2 separate regions of the Homo sapiens genome follow, and region 2 is linked to region 1. Evidence: promoter capture Hi-C in 16 types of primary human blood cells and fetal thymus (Javierre and others, 2016). All regions are on one chromosome and are shown on one strand. Each heading gives the region's core, a stretch centred on a gene start or on the middle of the fragment in contact. The rest is flanking DNA. Distances are from core to core; before and after follow the strand shown. Region 1 holds the start of FAM13A-AS1 (FAM13A antisense RNA 1). Region 2 overlaps FAM13A (family with sequence similarity 13 member A).

What was found. Contacts are between HindIII fragments. The CHiCAGO score rates a contact against its expected background, and 5 or more counts as called.
Region 2: a contact is called between a fragment that was not itself captured here and the fragment with the promoter of FAM13A-AS1 in region 1, in 1 of 17 cell types (endothelial precursors). The highest score is 5.5, in endothelial precursors.

The regions. Positions count from the first base shown.
Region 1 is chr4:88,708,036-88,711,955 of GRCh38, forward strand. It overlaps FAM13A-AS1 (FAM13A antisense RNA 1), which reads left to right and starts at 1,754. Exons shown (of 5, transcript NR_002806.2): 1 at 1,754-2,230; 2 at 3,820-3,920. It overlaps HERC3 (HECT and RLD domain containing E3 ubiquitin protein ligase 3), which reads left to right. Exons shown (of 26, transcript NM_014606.3): 26 at 1-504. The HindIII fragment of the contact is 7,507 bases long and covers 1-3,520 here.
Region 2 is chr4:88,783,615-88,787,534 of GRCh38, forward strand. The region is part of intron 10 of FAM13A (family with sequence similarity 13 member A); the gene reads right to left. Among named protein-coding and RNA genes, the nearest start is that of FAM13A-AS1, 76 kb to the left of the region's middle. The HindIII fragment of the contact is 1,984 bases long and covers 1,641-3,624 here.

The sequences.
Region 1 (3,920 bases), core at 504-3,003:
ATTTAAATTGCAAAATTTTTACTCAGATTTTTTTTCCTCTTCCCTAATTGCTAAGATTTAAGGACGTTCTTTATTATGAAACTTTATCACATTCGAAATGTTTGTTTACAGTGGGATTTTAGGGGGGATTGTGTTTAAATCAAATATATGTATTTTAAAAATAATGACATGCTCAACCTTCCTCATCATGGAGTAAGAAAATTCTACATGATTAAAGAATCCATGTAAGTCTAATTTTAAATTCCTAGTAACTAGAGAAAAGACTTATTTATATAAAATGAAGTATTTATGAACTGTGATAAAGCATCAAATCTTGATGAAGGATTGTAGATTTTTGCTTTTTCTTTTTGTTTTTAAAACTTATTCCAATTGCTAAATTGGTAGTTTTTCAGTCTTTATAAATACAGGATTAAAAATATATATACAGTTATATGAAATGTTTATTTTCTATGTGTGTGCATATAGTTCAATATTATGCAATAAATTTGGTGTTTTAACTTAAAACTATTTCTTATTGTACTTGCAGAATGGATAGCTTGCTTTTAGTAGAAGCATTAGGTCGTATACTCAGATAATCTAATAGAAGGTCAGATTTGATTCCTGCATAAGAAAGTAGAGCCAAGTGCTGCAGAAATGGAGAAGAAAGCAGGGGCAAGGAGCAGATGGCATTAAGGAAGAATGAAGTTTTTGAAGGTTGGGATGGACGAAAAGGTGTTTCTCATGGAGAGGGATGCTTTAGCAAAGGCTCAAACATTGGGGCATATTTAGGCAAGAGCCAAGAACAGTTTGAAGGGAACATCAGAGGAAATAGGCAAATAATAGTAAATAATGGTAAGTAAGACTTGGGAGAAAGAAGGTAGATTTGGGGCTGAGGAACTAGCCTAACACTGGAACTTTAGTAGTAGCCAAGTAGGATTTGTTTCAATGTTCAGAACTTGAGGGTGATAAGACCTGAGCCGGGTCTTAAGAAGGAAAATGTGGATGGTCTAAATCTGGAGGTATTGAGGTGGGAAGGACTGAAGCAGAAAGACAGGAGCTGAGACAGCAGTGACAGTGGCAGCAGCAGAACTAGAGAAGAGTATCTGAGGAGAGGTAGGGGGAGTGAGTGGAGGTGGTAGGAGCCTGCAGGGAGAAGGAGGCACTAAAGGTGGATCAGAGACTGGTTCATTTAGTGATTGGTGATTGTTAGGCCATTTAAGCACACCAAAAGTTTGTGAGACACAGCAAAAAAAAAAAAAAAAGAAAGGATTTTAAGTAAATTGGTAAAGCAAGTAAAATGTATTGTTTTGCCAGATTAAAAAGGTGGTTTAAAGGTGGTAAAGAGAATAGGAGCTTTCCATTAATAAGCTCCATTCAACAAACATTTAATAATCTACATAAGTGCTACATTTGAGGAGTTAAAAACAAACCCCACTACATTTAATTTTGCACAGAAATTGCCAAATTATTTTAACTAACTTTGAGGCCTCAGAATTCTCATCCATGAAATGAGATTGGATCAGATGATTTCTAAGGTTACTTTGAGCTCTAAAATTTTATAATTCCATTACTGAGAGAGTGCCTGAACATAGAGATACCCAATACATATTTCTAAAGATTTGTTGCATGAATGATATCTTATGCTGCTTCTAAAACACTATGATTTTTCTAAGATAGTTTCCTTTTCCCCTTCATTACCAATGCTTTAGAAGACTTAAATCTTCTGCATAGGCATTTCTGGATTTGCCTACCCACCTACCAACCTTCCCTCCCCTGAAAACTTTCAGATGCTTCTTCATTGTTTTAGTCATTTACCACTTTAATGAAATTATCTGGCAACTTTATTGTGGTGGGTGGGGATCAATGACGGTGTAATGAGGCAATTAGCAAATTCTGATAGTTCCATCTACTCCATGTGAAAGTCTCTTGATGTTTTATATGGTACTCTTATTAATAATCCCAGAGAGCAGGGGTTGGCAAACTATGGCCCATGGGCTAAAATGGTTTTTACATTTTAAAAGGGTTGAAAACTTTAAAACTGGAAGGATACATGACAGAGACTGGATGGCCTACAATGCCTAACATATTATCTAGCCCTTTACAGAAAACAACTGACCAATCCTTATGAGACCAGACTTGCAAAAATTACAGTAACAGAGTGAAAAACCTTCTTGAAGTGTTAGGAGGAACTTGAGTCATAATTTGATGTTGAATCAGAGAGAACAACTGTTTGGGCTTATTTGCCTCAGAGGTAAGAAAATCAAGTTTTAACTAAGATTAACCCACAGAAGTAGATATTAATACTAAGGTTTCGACCTAATAATAACTAACCTGTATTAATTGTGTGCAGTGTACCAGACCCATATGAGATCCTGCACCAACATTTGCTATGCACTAACTAGTTTAATTGCCATTACCAGGGTCCTCCTGGCTCTGCTATTTACTAGCTGTTTGACCTTGGGCAGGTTTCTTAACCTATGTCTCATTTTCTTCCTCTTCAAAATGAGAACAGAAATAGTGCCTACCTCATGGAGTTGTTGTGAGGATTAAATGAATTAATGGAAAGCATATAGAATAGCGCTTAGCACATAATAAGCTCTCAGTACTTAGAATTACCATTATCCCAGTTTTTCACATGAAGGAATTAATTAGAGAAAATAGTTGCTCATTATCACAAAATAGTGGGACCTGGACTTGACCATTAATCTGTGTTATGCCCAGCTGCTAGAGATGGGCAACAAATTGGATTAAGGCTGCTCAGTAGCCAAATAAAAAGGAATGTTGTAATGTGGCAGGTAACTTCTTTGACCACATATCTGCAAAGACATCGCACCGAGTTCCACGTATCTGCAAAGACATCGCACTGAGTTCCACGTATCTGCAAAGACATCACACTGAATTTTGTTTTGCTGCCAGTGTGCAATTCAGTAGTGATCAGTGCAGTTCTCATGTCATTTGCAGTGGGTCTCAAGTGAAGCTGGAGGTCTCTGTTGGTAGTTAGTAGCCAGGAACCAGGTATGCTTAATGCCTTGCATTGCATAGAACAATTCCTCTTTATCCTGCCCAAGATGCCAGTGGGCACTGCTATGGTCTGAATGTTTGTTTCCCTCTTAAAATTTATGTGTTGAAACCTAGCCCCCAAGATGATGGTATTAGGAGGTGAGGTCTTTGGGAGGTGATTATATCATAAGGGCAGAACCCTCATGAGTGGTATTAGTTCCCTTATAAAAGAGAACCCAGAGAGGTGCCTTGCCTTCCCTACCATGTGAGGACACAGCAAGAAGGCACAATCTGTGAGAAAGTAGGCCCTCGCCAGACACCACCAGTGCTTTGATCTTGGATTTCCCAGCCTCCAGAACTGTGAAAAATGATTTTCTGTTGTAAATTACCTAGTGTTTGGCATTTTGTTATAGTGGCTTGACTGGACTAAGACAGGCCCCTTTGTAAAACACTGAGAGAGGGATGGACTTCATACCCTTTAGGGGATCCTTCTCTGTAGAATTCTTTTTTTCAGAAGATTTTTTTTTTTCTTTTATTAATAAGCTTTTTATTTTTGAATACTTTTTTATTGGTACATAGTTGTACGTATTATGGGGTACTTGTGGTATTTTGATACAAGCATACAATGAATGCATAATGATTAAATCTGGGTAATTAAGATATCAAAACATCTATCATTTCTTTTTGTTGGTTACATTCCAAATCTTCTAGCTATTTTTAAACATACAATAAATTATTAACTATAGCCACCCTATTGTGCTATCAAACAATAGAGCTTATTCCATTTAACTGTTATTTTTGTACCCATTAACCAACCTCTTTTTATCCCTCTCCTCCTAGTATTTGCCCAGCCTCTGGTAACTATCATTCTATTCTCTACCTCCATGAGAGCAACTTTCTTAGCTCCCACATGTGAATGAGAACATGCAATATTTGTCTTT
Region 2 (3,920 bases), core at 1,383-3,882, 76 kb after region 1:
ATGCTTTAAAGCTAGTATGGACGGATTTATGTACCCTCAAAATTCACATTTTGAAGTCCTAACCCCCAATGTGACCATATTTGGAGACAGGGCCTTTAAGGAGGTAAATAAGGTTAAAAGAGTAACAAGGGTGGGACCCTAATCCAATAGGACTAATGTCATTGTAAGAAGAGGGAGAGACATCAGGAGTGTGCACACAGGGGAAGGGGCATGTGCAGACACAGTGAAAAGGTAGCCATCTGCATGCCAGTGTGAGAGGCCTCAACAGAAACGGACACTTCTAGCACCTTGACCTTGAACTTACAGCTTCTAGAACTGTCAGAAGATAAATTTTTGTTGTTTAAGCCACCCAGTCGGTGGTATTTTGTTATGGCAGCCCAAGCAGACTAAAGACGACAGCTAAAAACGATTTTTAAAAATAAGAAAGTAAAGTTTATTTTATGATCATTTTGAATAGTGAATGAATGACTAGAAAAAATCCTGTCAAAATAAATATATGAAAATCTGACCATGCTGTTGTGCTCATGGACAAATCCTGTCTCCTCCGAGGGAAGTCTTTGCTTTTACGTGCATCCACGTGTCTCTTCTACTTCACTTTGTTGAACTCTAATTTCGATTACACTATAGATCCATGAGCCTGGATGCGATATCTGTTTTTCATCATTGAATCACCTTATAGTACTGGGTGCTCAATTATCACTGTTGAAGACTTCAGGGGCACTTTATTTAGATACAGCTCTGTATAAAACACATGGTTGTATTTCTTTAAATCTAATCTTAGATGGAGCAGGTGTACTCAATTCCTTCCTGCAATATTCTGTCAGATTTCAATCACATTTGACATAACTTGGATTTCACTGAACTTAGATCTCTGGACCTCTCACTTTCATTATCTAGATTTATTTCCATATTTTTTTCAGGATTTTCTCCTCACCCCTACATACTTACTTAATGTCCTGGCAATGCTGAACTATTTATTATTCCCCAAATATAGCCTGCTTTTCTTTTACTTTGCAGTAGGATTTTAATATAGTCTTTATATAACAAAGAAACATTTGGATCAATTTTCCAGTTCACTGTGTTTTTAGAAGATTGAAAATCATTTTCACTTAAATGATGCTTTGCTTTTAAAAAATATTTCTTATGATTTTTTTCAAACATATACAGAAGTAGAGACACTATCATAACAGACTTCCATATACCCATTACCAAAATTTCACATTTCTGTAAACTTGGCAGATAGTAGATTTTTTTACTAAATGAATTTAGCTGAATATTTTTACATAATGAAGATTTTATTATTACATAATGAAGATTAATTTGCTACAAAATTGTAGCAAATAGTAATATAGGTCTGATTATATTTCCTTATGAATTTAGACAAATAACAAATCATTTGTACCTATGAATGAAGTTATTTGTAGTCTTTGTCTATCTTCGGTACTGCTATTTCAAAAATGGGCCATGACGACTTTAGTATGACTTTACTGACCCTTCTACTCATCTTGAAACATAGTCATCATTGGCTTCTTCAAGAATATTTTTTAATTTGTTGCATCTCTAAGTTACTAGAGGCAAAATAATAGATAATAATATAAATAGATTTCTATGTTTCTAAACACTTTTTAACCACTTCATAAAGCTTATAGTTTTGAATAGAATATTACAGCCTAGCTTAATTTTTCCTTATTTTTTGAGTAAAGACTTGTGAAAAATCTTAAATGAATCAATTGTATAGAAGCATATACTATGACGAACTCTTGACTGTAGGCTATATTAATGATTCTTGATCTTCTTATAATTTATGACATGTTCATGACTCTCCTGGAGATACTGGAGAAGACCTTTATGGCGGCTCATTGAAAGGAAGGTTAAAACAGAAATCTAAGACCAAAGAGGAGATGCTGAAAGAATCAGCCTGCTGGAAAACTATTTCAAGCAAGCAGATGAGCAAAAGGAAAGAGTGGAGCTGGGAAGAAACAAGCGGAATGAGAGCACTGGATCAAAGAAGGTGAGTGAAAGGATAACAGAACCCAGCATGAAGATAAGGGGAGAGGGGTTGCAGGAAATGACTACTGACCTACGGTCAAAGCTGGGCCAGACAAAATTAGTGGATCTGGGGGTTTTGAGAGATAAGGGTCTCACTCTTCCAAAGACCTGGAGAGCTAAGAGAAGCCGTTCAGTGTGGGCTGGGAGTTGAAGGACTATCAAGACACGATTGTATCATAGTGTGCCAGGTTAGGTACTGTTTGTACCCCAAGATTCTCTCACTCAATGCCCAACTGTGATTTGACCAGGAGGAGTGGTGAAGGGAATAGCAAGAGAAGAACAATTAAGGGAAAGGCTAGGGTTTCATGGGTATAGTCTTCATACCATCACTCAGCTACCATTCCCCATCTCCTTTGGTTCTCCTAATACTGCTAGTAAAAAACAATCAAGATAACTTATGCAAGAAATGTCCCTGGGCTTGGGAAGCTCTCTATTTAAATTCTTCAGGAGAGGTGAGGCTGTGTTTCACATTTCCCTGCCCTGTCTGGCCCCTATCTGTTTCTACCTCCACTGTCCTCCCCCAGACCTGCTGCCAAGCATCCACCAACAGCACCATCACTCTCTGTTCTCTCTCATGCTCCCCACCACTTCCCACCTCCACCTGCTAGCCCTCTGTCCAAACAAAGAGGGTGGAAAGCAGGATATCGTGACACACTGAGGATATTTTTAAAATGCAAAATGTTGCTACATACTCCTCAGCAAAAAATGAGGCAGAGGATAAGAACAGTGTTAAATGAATAATTTGTGCTTTCTCTATAACACATTAGAGGTAGTACACAAACTAATTATACTTCTAAACACTTTCTATAAACATGTCAGTAGCTAATTTTAAATGTAAATATCTCATGTCATGCCACAGGAGAAGAAATGTAAATATCTCCTATATTATACTTTTTCTATTTTCTAAATGGAATATTACAACTATTCTATCCACCAGCTCCATGAAAATTTATTTTAAAAGTACTGCACATGCTACTTGTAAATCAGTGGGTTATATTATTGATACTGCTTTATTTCTAAAATTACATTTGCTAATATAGCTCTTAAACATCTCGGTGAGGTATAGCATGAAACTTATTTATACTGTTTATCTTTTATGTTTTTCTTTAAGCGAAAAAAAGTTTTTTTTCTTTTTCCATAAAGGGTTTAATGTAGATTATGAGTCAAAGTGAAAAAGAATGCGAATGAGGGGTGTGGGACTATTATATATTCATAAAGATTAAAAATTAAGAAAAGAAAGAAAAAGAATGAGGGGTGCTAGGGTCTGGTTCAGGTTAGTTTCTGACATTTAATAAGGAGTCATTATTAAACCATAAAGAGGCTAAAGGCCATAGTCAATAAAAATAACCTTGGAACTTTCAGGGAAAATATATGAATATCTGTATAGTCTATTCTCTATATAAATTTATTTTCCTTGACAATTTAAGTCATGATTATTAAATAATATAAATGGTAATTGTTCATCTGTATTTTATTAAATCTTTTCATGGAGAATAAAGCTCTTTGTAACACTATTCTTAAAATTCATACTATGGGAATGCCTTAAAATTAGTGATTATTATAATAAACAACTTAAGCTTTTCATTTTTTGAGTAGATTTAAGCCCAACCTTTCTTATACTAAAACATAATCAAATGTCAGAGTATTATAGGGATATCTGACTATTTAATCACATAAATATAATGGAGAAATCAGCTGCTCCATAAACAAGTCTAAATAGTCAACTTAATGTTGTCTAGCAAGAAAAAAAATACCTCTGGACAAGCATATGGTAACTTTCTCTGCCCATGGTTCAGAATCCCTCTAAATAAGATATTTATGAGGAAGCCATAGGGTGTATTCAATCAGAGGTGGCTTCTAACAACATACCA